Linked DNA regions of Homo sapiens: all the other regions are linked to region 1. The links are contacts of gene promoters, found by promoter capture Hi-C in blood cells and fetal thymus (Javierre and others, 2016). All regions are on one chromosome and are shown on one strand. The core of a region is centred on a gene start or on the middle of the fragment in contact, and the rest is flanking DNA. Distances in the headings are between cores, read along the strand shown. Region 1 holds the start of RBKS (ribokinase). Region 2 has its middle 28 kb from the start of FOSL2-AS1. Region 3 has its middle 44 kb from the start of FOSL2-AS1. Region 4 overlaps FOSL2 (FOS like 2, AP-1 transcription factor subunit).

The links. The method cuts DNA at HindIII sites, captures the fragments that hold promoters and counts their contacts. A CHiCAGO score of 5 or more calls a contact.
Region 2: a fragment that was not itself captured here is called in contact with the fragment with the promoter of RBKS in region 1 in 3 of 17 cell types (activated CD4 T cells, M0 macrophages and monocytes); the score reaches 8.5 in activated CD4 T cells.
Region 3: a contact is called between a fragment that was not itself captured here and the fragment with the promoter of RBKS in region 1, in 1 of 17 cell types (M2 macrophages). The highest score is 5.2, in M2 macrophages.
Region 4: a fragment that was not itself captured here is called in contact with the fragment with the promoter of RBKS in region 1 in 7 of 17 cell types (activated CD4 T cells, M2 macrophages, endothelial precursors and 4 more); the score reaches 11.5 in activated CD4 T cells.

Annotation. Positions count from the first base shown.
Region 1 is chr2:27,888,932-27,891,847 of GRCh38, reverse strand. It overlaps RBKS (ribokinase), which reads left to right and starts at 1,461. Exons shown (of 8, transcript NM_022128.3): 1 at 1,461-1,591. The coding sequence starts at 1,503. BABAM2 (BRISC and BRCA1 A complex member 2) reads right to left here and starts at 1,119. Exons shown (of 12, transcript NM_199191.3): 1 at 1,006-1,119. BABAM2-AS1 (BABAM2 antisense RNA 1) reads left to right here and starts at 734. Exons shown (of 1, transcript NR_028308.1): 1 at 734-2,392. RefSeq lists a silencer at 994-1,273. The HindIII fragment of the contact is 13,557 bases long and covers 1-2,916 here.
Region 2 is chr2:28,420,829-28,423,952 of GRCh38, reverse strand. No RefSeq gene overlaps it. Among named protein-coding and RNA genes, the nearest start is that of FOSL2-AS1, 28 kb to the right of the region's middle. The HindIII fragment of the contact is 5,483 bases long and covers 1-3,124 here.
Region 3 is chr2:28,437,291-28,440,537 of GRCh38, reverse strand. No RefSeq gene overlaps it. Among named protein-coding and RNA genes, the nearest start is that of FOSL2-AS1, 44 kb to the right of the region's middle. RefSeq lists an enhancer at 157-656. The HindIII fragment of the contact is 8,626 bases long and covers 1-3,247 here.
Region 4 is chr2:28,402,877-28,406,015 of GRCh38, reverse strand. FOSL2 (FOS like 2, AP-1 transcription factor subunit) reads right to left here. Exons shown (of 4, transcript NM_005253.4): 2 at 1,658-1,909. Among named protein-coding and RNA genes, the nearest start is that of FOSL2-AS1, 9.8 kb to the right of the region's middle. The HindIII fragment of the contact is 2,577 bases long and covers 391-2,967 here.

The sequences.
Region 1 (2,916 bases), core at 212-2,711:
GGTCGTGACTTTAGGATGACACCTGAGGGAATGAATTCTATTTCCAGGGCAGCCATAATACTATGTTTTAACAGTGCAAGGTTTCACGCAGTATTAAAATCTATTTCAACCATGAGGAGGTGTGACTTCTCTAAAAAAAAAGGGCGGGGGGTGGGGAGTGGAACACAATGACTCCAAAATCAGAAGTCACTTAGCCAAAAACACTGGTCCTTTGGTGCAGTGAACCGGGTACATGGACAGGGAGTCACCACCGGTAGTAACTCTTACGCATGGCAGCACTATAATACACCCCAGATATACAAATATTTACGGTGGTCAGAGTCCCCTGAATACTACTACTGCAATTTGTATTTCCTGATTTTGACGTATTGCAAAAGGAAAATGCAAAATTACAATTTTTGCAAGGGTCTGCTACCCCAAAATAAAGTTACAAAAGGTCCTTTGATGAGAGGCCTGGGGATTACAAAGACGTCTAAAGCACCATCCAGGTTCTTGCAATTAAAATGAGATGACAAACACGGAAACATGTGCCCTGCTGACGTCATGGAACGGAAAGGGGTGGCATCCTGCTGCGTCACGTCGACGTCATACAGCGCACGAGGGAAGTTACACTGGGGAAGCAATTTCCCCCAAGGGGCAACATTCGAGAAAAACAAGTTAGCTCAGACCCGAAGAATGACCACCCCACTCTAGGGGACGTCTTAAAAAGGGACACTCTCCCCTCTTCCAAACTGTATGATTCCCCTCATCAGGCAACAAGGAACTAATACTCGGGGTTTACAGGAACCAGGGGATGGGCCAGATATGGAGAAAGAGACGCCTCTGGCCTTGGGGGCTCGTTCTTGAGGGAATCAGCGTGATGGGGATGAGAAGGGCATCTTTGGAACGGGGGCCTTCTCCATAGGAAGAGGAGGCGAGTCCCCTGGCCATATTTAAACCACAGTTCTCCACGCCACCTGTGCGACTCGGGATCCAACCTCCCCGCACCAGCCCCAGTCCAGGTACCTGGAACTTAGTCCGATCGGTAACCGGCGACTACGTGGGGTACAGGTACCCGAGCGCGCCCCCGACAGACGCACCGACCTGCGCGCGCGCCGCGGGCAGGATGCGTGCGCACTCCCCGGACGTCCCGCCCCGCCCCCTCTGCGGCCCCGAAGCTGGGCGGCGTGCGCGCCCCCGCGCCGCGCCGAGCCGGGCGCTCGGAAAGGCGTCCCCGCGGTGCCTGACAGTTCCTTCCTCAGCGCCTGCCCCGTGAGTGACGAGGAGCGCGGAGTCTCGCCATATCAGGAGGGCCCTGTTACGTGAGGCTGTGCACCGAGACTATTCCAGGAAGAAGAGGGGACACTTGGTGGGCGGGGTGATTTCGGGCAGTCAGGTGGGCGACCCGCGTAGGCGTCTGAAAGGCCCGCGTCGTTAGGGAGGGCAGGAGTGGCGTCTCTGGTTACGGGGTCGGGCAAAGGGCAGAGGTCACCGTCCAGGTTGGACAGCAGCACCTTTGAGCGATGGCGGCGTCTGGGGAACCCCAGAGGCAGTGGCAAGAGGAGGTGGCGGCGGTGGTAGTGGTGGGCTCCTGCATGACCGACCTGGTCAGGTTAGTCCGGGGCCAGTTACTCAGTCTGCGGCTCGGGGGAGGAGGCGTGCCGTGCGCTATGCGCCCAGTGGAGCTTTTGGGCGCTGGGTCTCCAGGGATAGACAGTGCTAGCTTTGGGTATGAGCTGCAGGTTTTCGAAGCCTTCAGCCTACCTTCCTGGCATGAAAGAACTTGAGTATATAAAGGTAAATCTCAGGGGAGGGGACGTAATAGGCCAGGGTTTAGTGAAAGCTCTAATATTACTCAAAGCGCTCCCCAAAGACCTGCCCTCCAAAGACTTGCGCCCCCAAAGACCTTTCTTGGCCCGGCTGCTGAGCCTTTCCCCAAACGAGCCAGGGAACTTTGCCCACGTCATTTTACCTCCGAGAATGTGCCTACCTCACAGGGTTGTTGTGAGGACTAAATGAAGTAAAGTGTTTTGTCAAGCGTAACATTATCCAAATTGGGTATTATTCGTCTGAGCTTATTGTATAAAATAATGAGTTGAGCAGAAATCAAAAAGACTGTCACCTTTCACCATGTTGATTGTCGGCATTACTGCAGTATTTTATATTTACAGCGTATTTTTCAGCAAGCCAAGTATGAATCAAAATAAAAACATAAACACAGTATTTACAACCTCTGAAAACGATGATCAAATTATGATAGAAAATATGCCAAATGAAAATTGTTGAGTTAGGTCAGTAAGATTGAGTAGACAGATCCTTCTGATTTTTCTTTTTTTTAAATTAAGGTAGCTTTTCTGATTACAAAAGTAATGTATGTTCACTGTAAAATTAGTAATAAATTCAGATATTCCAAGAAAATCCTACCACTCCAATTACTGCAGTTCAGTCTTTTGATGAATATCTTTTCAGTTGTAATGCTACTTTGTGTTATAAAAATGATCAGGTATGCTACAGTAACACCTCATTCGTCCTGAAATGTTGCTTTTCCAAAGGGTAATAGAGAACGTGGAACTAAACAAAAAGGCTTTGGGACAATCAAAATAAGTCACCAAATTGCTGCACCAAACCACCTGTATTCTACTCAGAAAATAGGTCTAGGGTCTTCATGTAACCAATTTAACCTTACCTTAAAATATTTATAAGCTGTGTTACCAAATTTCCACTGAGATTAGAAAGGTGGGAGTTAGAGAAGAGACTGCTAGAGGCAGTTATAGTGACTGACGAAAACTTGAGGATGAGTAGGAGACTGTGTAACGAGAAGAAGCAACAAAAGAATTTTAAATACCAATGACCTTTATTTTTCCACAAATATTAGAACTATTCTGTCAGACACTGTGCCAAGATAAAAATACTTTCCTTTGGTGACAGAGCATAAAA
Region 2 (3,124 bases), core at 544-3,043, 530 kb before region 1:
AGATGGATGATACTTGATCACATTTAATGCTGATGGGAAAGGGCCCTTGAAAAGACTGACGTCAACCACAAAATAAGAATAGGAGGAAGCTGGTGGAAGAGGGTCCCTGAGAAGAAGGAGCACGGTGGGTACCCAGAGCTGGGCAAAGGAAGGGGCTTGGGGGCAGGAGGGGCCCTTCTCTGTCAAATCAGGAGAAGGAGGGAAGGTGGGAGACAGATGGCAGCGATGGGAGATGGAGGAGATGCCCTCTGATGGCCTCCATTTTCTGTGAGGTGGAAGGTGACATCGTCTGTAGAAAGTGAGGGGGCTGGGGGGCCTGAGAAGAGGGGAGCCCCTCTGGGGAACAAGAGAACACTGGCCGGGAAAACACAGAGGGCTCAGGACCAGGGCAGGGTGGAAACATGACGTGATGGTGGCACCCATCTGCACGTCCTCCAGCTCCTGGCATTAAATGCCTAAAACCGAACTCAGGACCTGGGCCTCCTGCCCCCGACCCAGCTCCTCCTCTTGCCTCCCAGTTTTTATTCCTGGAACCAGACCTCTCAGACTCGGCTTCCCCAGGAACGTCCTTCTGACATCACTGCTAGTGCGGACTCTTGCGGGGCCTCCTTCCTCCCCCCGCCCACCTTTCCTGCACACCTGCAGCAATAACCTCTCTAGAGTGGGACTGCGGCTGTGTCACCCCTCCGCCATGCAGCTGCCCCATTTGCAGCTTCCAATACCTAGAAATAAATCTCTCATTTCTTCTTACTTTTGGGGTCTGTTTAAATGCCACTGATTCTGGAAAGCCCTTTCTAACCATCCCCCAGACTAGGGAAAGTCCCCTTGGTACCTGCCCCCATGGTGCCTTATACATCTCTGTGAGACACTCGTGAACCTGTAATTACTTATTCTACAATGGCCAGTAGCCAGGACAATGGCCTGGGGTGGGGGTGGGGGCCCTAAGGCTTCCTTGTCCCCTCTGTCTTCCTGGAGCCGAGAACAGTGCCTAGCACAAATAGGCACTCAATAAAAGGCGTTGATAGACTGACTATAGAAAGGTTCAAGCCTGCCTTAGGTTGGCAGCTTAAATTTCCAACATCCCCAATCAGCCCATGCTCAGGACATCCAGGCCTCCTGCACAGCCCCCAAAGCCAACCCATGTTCTCTTCCCCTTGTGTTAGATTGTTCCCTTGGCCAGGCACGCTTGCTCTCTTCTTTATCCATTTTTTTTTTTTTTTTTTTTTTTGAGGCAGGGTCTCACTTTGCTGTCCAGGCTGGAATGCAGTGGCATTATCACAATTCACTGCAGCCTCCACCTCCTGGGCTCAAGCGGTCCTCCCACCTCAGCCTCCTGAGTAGCTGGGATCACAGGTGTATGCAACCATGCCCAGCTAATTTTTTAAGTTTTTATAGAGACGAGGTCTTGTCGTGTTACCCAGGCTGGTCTTGAACTCCTGGCCTCAAGTGATCCACCTGCCTTGGGCCTCCTGAAGTGCTGGGATTACAGGTGTGAGCCACCGTGCCCGGCTCCACTCCATCTTACCCATAGCCATCCCACTTTCAGGCTCCAATTTAGGATCCTCTCCTCCATGGAATTGTCTCTGAAATCCCCCCACCTGCCACAGGCCAAAATGTCTGTGCTCCTTCTCCTTCCACTCCAACCAGATTGCAACCTCCTTGAGGGCAGCTTCTAGTTTTTAGTTCATTGCTATTTCCAGTGAAAACATTTGGCTGTGAAATAAAGAGACACCTCATTTCTAACACTGGCATCAACAGTGTCTTATAGAACTGTGTCCCAAGAGTGCCTTTGGCGGTGTCATGCACTTAGTAGGAACACAAAAATATTTTTTAATGAATATTTTCTCCCTCATCCCTGTAAGAATATAATGGTGACAGTCTCCAACTGCACACTAATTTTTTTAAATGCGGTTCTCTTATGTTTAAAACACAAGGTGTCTGTTTTTATCAGTGAATGTAGTCTGTCTTTTCAGATTTATTCCATCTTTGAGAAACAAATGCATGCCATTTGCACTGGATCAAGGTAGTAACTGTACTTGCCAGTGGAACAGACACACCACTGTGTAAGAAAAAAGGAATTTCTGGCCGGGTGCAGTAGCTAACCCCTGTAATCCCAGCACTTTGGGAGGCCGAGGCAGGTGGATCACTACAGATCAGGAGTTCGAGACCAGCCTGGCCAACATGGTGAAACCCCATCTTTACTAAAAATACAAAAATTAGCTGGGCTTGGTGGTGCATGCCTGTAGTCCCAGCTACTTGGGAGGCTGAGGCAGAAGAATCACATGAACCCGGGAGGCAGAGGTTGCAGTGAGCCAAGATTGTGCCGCTGCACTCTACCCAAACAATAGAGCGAGACTCCATCTCAAAAATAAATAAAATAAAAAGAAAAAAAAAAAGAGAGAATTTCTAATGGAGTTGAGATTTTCCAACACATCCAGCAACATTTGTCTCTTGGGTTACTGAATGAGACCATTTATATAAAGGCACATGAAAAGGTTACGAAGTATGGAAATAAAGGGGAAACAGTACCACTAGTCTCTATTAGTTTATTTTCTGTGCTAATGTTTCATGATTCTTTTTTAGTTCAGAAAATAGAGTCACTGGGATTCTCAGAAATACTACCTAAATATAAATCCATAGAGACAGAAAGCAGATTGGTGGTTGTCAGGGGTTGGGGAGGGAGGACTGGGGAGTAGTAGCTTAATGGGTTTGGGGTTTTCTTTCTGGGTGATGAAAATATTTTGCAACTAGACAGAGGTGGTAGTTGTATTATACAACATCGTGAAGGTAATAAATGCCACTGAATTGTTCACTCTAAAATGGTTCATTTTCTTCTATATGAATTCCACCACAAAACAAAGATATGTCACCTATATAATACTGAATAGTTTCCAAAGGTCCTGAGGGACAAGGCAGCGTTATGCTCTGAAATAGCAGCAGATCTGAAGGCCCCACAGCAGCCTGTACTTTGCCTTTGGAGAAAGAAGGGGGGTCCCCCGTGTCTAACCAGGGCCCTGTCCTCACAGTGCCCTCAGAGACATTCAGCCGAATGCCACTGCAGTCCAGGCCACTGCGGAGTGTTTGTGTTTTGGTTTGTTTTCCCCTTGGGCTTACAGAAGGACTT
Region 3 (3,247 bases), core at 447-2,946, 550 kb before region 1:
AGCTTACTCTCCACCAGAATTGCCGCTAGACCTCTGTCCCCCTCAGCTTGCCCCTGCTCCACTCTACAGCACCCCCAGCTCAGGCCCAAGGTGGTGACTTCTTAAACAGTGGGTATGGAAGGTGGCATTGAAGAAGTGAGTGAGTGCTGAGCCCTGGCCTCTCCGTAGGACTGCCTGGTTCTCAGACTGAGGAACATGTGGACCCTTTTAAACTTTAAAATCTCTGCCCTCCCTGGTCTCCCAGGAGAAGCTAGAAGTTTCAGGAGACCTCACCCATGAGCCCATTTTCTGACAACCTGGCTCCCCACAAGCATGGCAAGTCCCCTAGAGGTTTGTATGGACGAAAAGGAGAGGCCTTATCCACTGCGCCCAGGGCTCAGCCCTGCTTCAGGCGTGTGTTGTCTGTAGCGGGCAGAGGGAAGGGGGCAGGTGGGGGAAGCGTCATGAGTCTGGCTCCCGACACCTGTCCAGGGCCTCAGCCCGCTGGCCTGGACTCTGTTGCTAACACCCGTGCGGCCGTTGCCCGCCCTGCCACCTGTGAAAGTAAAGCGGGGCTCAGGGGAGGGCCTAGCTCAGGGCGTTCTACGCTGAGTTCCTCAGCACTGATGGGGGCTCTCCATTGTCCCCTCTGGCTCTGCCAGTCCAGGAACCCTGATGGAGCAGGGCTGGGGGCCCAAGACTGAGTATGGCCACCCCCTCCGGCAGGTGGGCTGACTCCAAGGCCTGCTGTGTGGCAGAGGAGTGTGGAGGGTGGTGGCGTGGGGGTGGCAGCTGTCAGGCCCAGGTGAGAGGAAGGCAAACAGAAAGGGATATATCCTCCAAAGCAGTGAATCACGAGCCACGACATTCATTAACTCGGCCTAATTAAGAAACAAACATGACGGCCACTGGTGCTGGGCAATTTGTTAACATCCAGTCCTCCTGGTCCCCCTGCCCCCGCTGATGAGGCCCTCTGCCTCCTCCTCAGTCCGAAGAGTGCCCTGGAGAGTCAGCACTGGGGCACTGACAGATGCTCCTGGCCTGTGGGATGGGGAAGGAGGGCTGATGCTCATGATGTATCTCCCTCGTGTCAGGTCCAGACTTTCATGAGGGTCACATCCGTGGGTCCTCACAAGCCCCTGAGAGGTGGGATTCATGGTTCCCAATTTGGAGATGGGGAATTTGAGGCTCAGAAAGCGGGGTGAACTTGCCCAAGGTCTCACACTAAGTGACGTCACTCTTTTCGTCACAATAGATAGTTGTCTTACTTGCAAGACTGAAAATACTTTTAGATTTTCTATTCTGACCTCCCAACTCATGGCTGTCCCCTCCCTAACAATATAACTTCCAGCTCCTTCCAGCAGCCCCCTCCACTGAGTCAGTCTTGAAGGGCATGGTGCAAGAATGCTTTCCAGAACAGGGAAGGTAGGATTTTAATTTTTCTGAAATAAATAGGAAAAATAGGGATAAGAATAGCAATGACAGTGTATTGCAGAGGCAGACGGAAGGGAAGGCTTAGCATATCATGTGCAACAGCCTGCAGGAGGCCATTTTGTCCGGAGCACAGTGAGTGGCTTAGATGGGAGCGGTGAGGGAGGGAGGGGTTGGGGGCACTGAAGAGGTGTACATTTCATTCCAAGGGCATTTTCAGCCGAGGAGATGGTGGCCACCTGCTGCCCTGTGAAGGCTGGATGAGTGATGGCCGGGGGGGCAGGTCCGCAGCGTCAGGGGCTCACATAAGAGATCTGAACTCGAGCTAGATGGGATGTTGTGTTGACAAGAGATCTTTCAAGAATGGCTTGACCTTTCTGTATCCCACGAGTCAACCACAGTGATCTGCAAAGCTATCTCATGAAGGAAATGACTGCGTGAATTTTAGCCCATGCTCTCACTGCGGCCTGGGCGATTATGATATTGGACAGAGATACTAGAGGAACACCCTCCATGCTGGGTCCCACCCAACTCTGCAGTCTGGTGTTTCCAGATTCTCCCTCTGTGCTGTTAGACCTGTGCGGCATCCATCTGGAATGCGAGGATACATCCTTCCAACCTCTCTTCTTCTTAGGCCCACCTGCCCTTGTCCTCGCTACAGCTTTCCCATTAAGGCGTCTGATGACCACAATGTTTCTAAGCTGGAAACCTCCCAACTAACAGCAGGACCCAGAATGCAAGTCTCCAGGGGCACAAAGAGGTACTTCAACAACAGGATGACCCACCCCCAACTACCAACCAAACTACGCTCTGCTGCAAGGCAGGAGACCGGCTTCTCTCAAATACAGCAAAGGCTGTCCCAGATACACAGTGACACACAGACAGTGCCTTGAGTTCGCCTGGTCATTACTTGGAGGATTGATTTGGTCCAAAACTCCTCGAGCTGCCAGGGATCCTAGTTAACAGCCCCATGCATGAAAACCAAGCAGGCCTGGAATTCCACCCTCCTGTCAACAAGCCCAGGAGAGGAAACCAGCGGCTGGGATGCACTTGTGTTTGCCCTGAGAGCAGGGAGCTCCTCCTCCACAGACCAGGCATGGAGGACGGCCCTGGTGGGGCCACCTGCCCATAATCCCCAAGTGACTCTGGAAGATTCCTCCTTTTGAAAATCATGGGGAAGGGGTTACCTGTTATGATTTTGGCATTCTGCCTTCTTTGTGACTGGTGGAAATCCTACAGACTTGCACCAACTTTCCTAAGACAATAGACTTCGGGGTTTAAAACATGTTAACACAATGTCTTTGAAACATTTAGAAATATCTTCACCACTCCCACCAACGTTGAGCATTTGTTTTTAAAAAATAAACACATGGCAAGAATGCCGTGCAGCACGCCAACGCGCAGGGGGCTGTTGTGCAAGCCACCCGCCCACGTGGTGGGTAGGAACCTGCCCACAGCTGTCGCCCTGCTCCTAACAACTCCTCCGGGCACACCCTGCTCATTAGGCCCAGGCCACGCCTGGCCGCCCAGACTCCTGGTTTAACCAGAATGCCAGGGGCGGGTGGGTGGGCGGCTCCTTGAACCCTGAACAATGGGCTATGAAAGAATGAATCTAGGCCCAGGCCTCGGGCCCAAGAGCTGGGCGCTGGCCCTCGGGATCCTCCCACAGCCAAGCCAAGGTTGGGCCTGTGGATCCTGCAGAAGGGGCCAGGGAGCAGCAAGGGGCCCCCAGAGGGAGCTGGCTGAGCTCTAGGCAGTAAAATTAGACTCCGTCTAGAGACTGCCTCGTTCAGTGGAAGGCTGAGCTGCAGCAGACATTATCTCACTCCTGCTCAAT
Region 4 (3,139 bases), core at 430-2,929, 510 kb before region 1:
GGCTTTGTGGTCCTGCTAGCCCCAAAGAGTACCTGGCAAGCCTGGCTCTCACTCAGGATCACTTATATCCCAGAAGAGTCCAGCTCATCAGTGAGTATAAGGCTTTGCACCTTGGATTCCGTGAAGGAAGCCTATTTATAAAAGTCCTTACAAGCATGGCTACTGCAATATTTACAACTGCAATTATAGAAAGCAACTGTGAGGAGGATACTGGCCACTTGCTCCAGCAGCAGAGGCCCAACATGCAGCTGTGAATCCATTATAGTGTCTAGCAGACACACCTCCCCAAGTGGCTCTGCACCGTGGTTCTGCCATTAACAGAACAAACCAACAAGTAGTGGATACAAGACCCAGCTTTGTCCTCGCAGGAGCAGAGCTCCTGAGAAAGCTTCCAGTTTCTTGGTGTGGTGATCCCTGTAATTCCAAGTATCCTGGGGTCTGGATCTACCCTGATCCACTGGGAACCATGTTTGAAAGGTCCGTATATTGGAACATTGTGGCCCTGGGGATCACAGAGTGAAGATGGACAGTGGTTGAAATGAGGAAGGGTTCCAAGGCTGTCACTGAAATAGTTTCCCAGGATAACAATTCATTTGAAAAAGGGATTCCACTGCTAAAGTATTTTTCCCTTCCCTGGGCTCAGGGTGGCATAGCCCTGGAGAAAGAATACTGCATAGGGGGTCCAGGGAACTGGGATCTAGCCCAGACTTCCCCACTCACTGGCCGAGTGGCCACACACAGGTATGTCTGGCCCTTGCTTGTATCATCTGACATGGGGGAGAGGTGGGGCTCTCTGAGGCTTTATCCCATTCTTTCTGGAATTATGCATGATTCTGATTTCCCTTTCCAAGACCAGGGAACTTGGCACTGCCCTGGCTTACTGCTGATCCAGGCAATGAGCCTCTTGAGTACTAGGTAGGTGCTGCCTAAATAGCAGAGCCCCCCCTTCCCCATTTTCTGGCTTCCCTCCCCAGCCAGGTTAATTCTTTCTCAAAGCTGAGCCCCTTGAAGAGAAAAGGGCTGATGTCTGGCCTCCCCTGCCTCATCCTCCTGTCCATGCCACTGAACAGACTCCTAAGGCCCCAGAGTTACTGCACCTCTGGAACATGCATTCCAGGCCCTTGAAATAGGCTCCTGCTCCGAGTTGGAGGCCTAGAACACTGAGGAGGAATGGGAAGTCGTGGGCAGTACCGACCCAGAGCTTGACCCCGTAGGTCTGCTGGGTGCCTGGCCTGCACTAGACCCTGGGAGACGGCTAAGGGATAATCCTAAAAAGCTCACAGCCAGGGTTCATTGGCTGCTTGTCCCATGGCCCTTTTGCCAAGGATCAGAGAAGGATCCTGCTGTGGGCAGGTCGTAATGGTCCTTCCCATCTGTAGCCAAGTCCTGGCTTGCAGGGACCATGATCCCCATTTTGTGGCTGAGGAAAGTGAGACTCAGAGATTCTAAGGGACATAAGCGAGATGACAGAGCCAGCCTGAGTCTTGGCTCTCCAGCTCGGCCTCCAGTAAGGGGGATGACGTGCTCTTCGACCCCTAGCTCCCTTGTCTCCCCTGCTCTCAGAACATTAACCCTCCCAGTCTGCAGAAACCCGTTCTGTGTTTCTGGGGCTCTGAAAGCCACTGACGTGGCTCCTTCCCACTGGTCTGAGCTGTACCTGCTCATCTCTCCTCCTGCGGCCCACGGTGGTGCCAATGGTCTTGATCACGCCAGGTCTTGGGAGGGCCATGTGTCCAGGGACAGAGGCCAGGCCCGGCAGGGGGCTGTAGGGGTGCGAGCGAGGGTATGGGTTGGACATGGAGGTGATCACTGTGGGCTGCACCATCCACTGCAGGTCCTGGCTGGTCGTGATGGCGTTGATGGTGGGGATGAATGCACTGCCTGAGCCAGGCATATCTACCCGGAATTTCTGAAATGAGGAAAAAAAATACAAATGAGCCAATAAATACTAAGCTGAACAGGATAGTTAATAATAATTGAACAGAGCTGAGGCAAAAACCAGCACAGAGCACAGTCAGTGTTCGAAGGGCAAGGTCAGGACCCCAGGTGGGCCTGGACAAGTCCTGTGCATCCAAGAATCAAGGGGGGAATCTTAATTATGCCTGGGGCTTCACGTCGGATCTGCTCCCTGACTGGGGTCCTGAGAACTCCATCCCCAGGTGGCTCAGTGAGGATACTGTCCTATTCCAAATGACTTCCAAGATAGACGTGGTCCCCAGCACTCACACTCGGCAGGCCCTCTTGGCAGCTCTCCAGGATACACATCTGCAGGATGTGGCACCTGGGTTTTTAAGCCTCTGAGTCGCCTGCCAACTGTTTCTCAGGGTACCAGCTCAGGACACCTTGAAGGGATTTGCACACCAGTAGCCTTGGACCAACAAAGATCACCAAGGGAGCATACTGTGTCTGCCTTTGTCACTTTCCAAAGAGGTTCAGGACAGAGCTATGACTCCATCAGGGCACAGCCAGGTCCGTGAAAAGATGTCCTCTAACCCAGGAGACTAACAAGTAGCGGCATTTGCAGCCAGACATCCCTTGCTGTCCTTGTCCCTCCTCCCTTCCCATCATCAGCATCTTGCTTGGGGCAGACTGGCTGAGTGTGTCTCTCTACCCAGCTACATAGGCATTGATCTATGTTCACAGATGTTTCTGTGGGAAACTCTGGTGCTGCTAGTGCAGTTTTCTCCCCGCTTCTTAATTTATGCCCAGACCACGTTGCAGAGCTCTCTGGAACATGCTGCAGGAAGCATTCTATTTAAAATATAAGATGATGACAGAGTATAGAAACTAAAATGGGCTGTGCTCCTTAGCAGCTGGTCCTGACCTTTCTCCAAGGCAGCTACTGGAAACTGCAAGAAGCGGGAAGGAGAGAAGAGCCCCCTACTTCCAGCTTTTCAGAGGCAAGTCCCCCTAATGGAACCCAGGTGAACCTTCATCTTCAGATGACTCCTGTGTCCACATAAAGCTTCTCCAAGTAGTTTCTTCCCCACTTAAAAACTGGGTGAGATGAAGACAATAGCTAACAACACTTCCTGGGCACTTACTAAATGTCAGACACCATGGCTTACCTAGATTATCTCACTAATTCTCTCTCTGAGTGAAGAACGACCATTAGCTCCATTTTAGGGACAGAAATTTA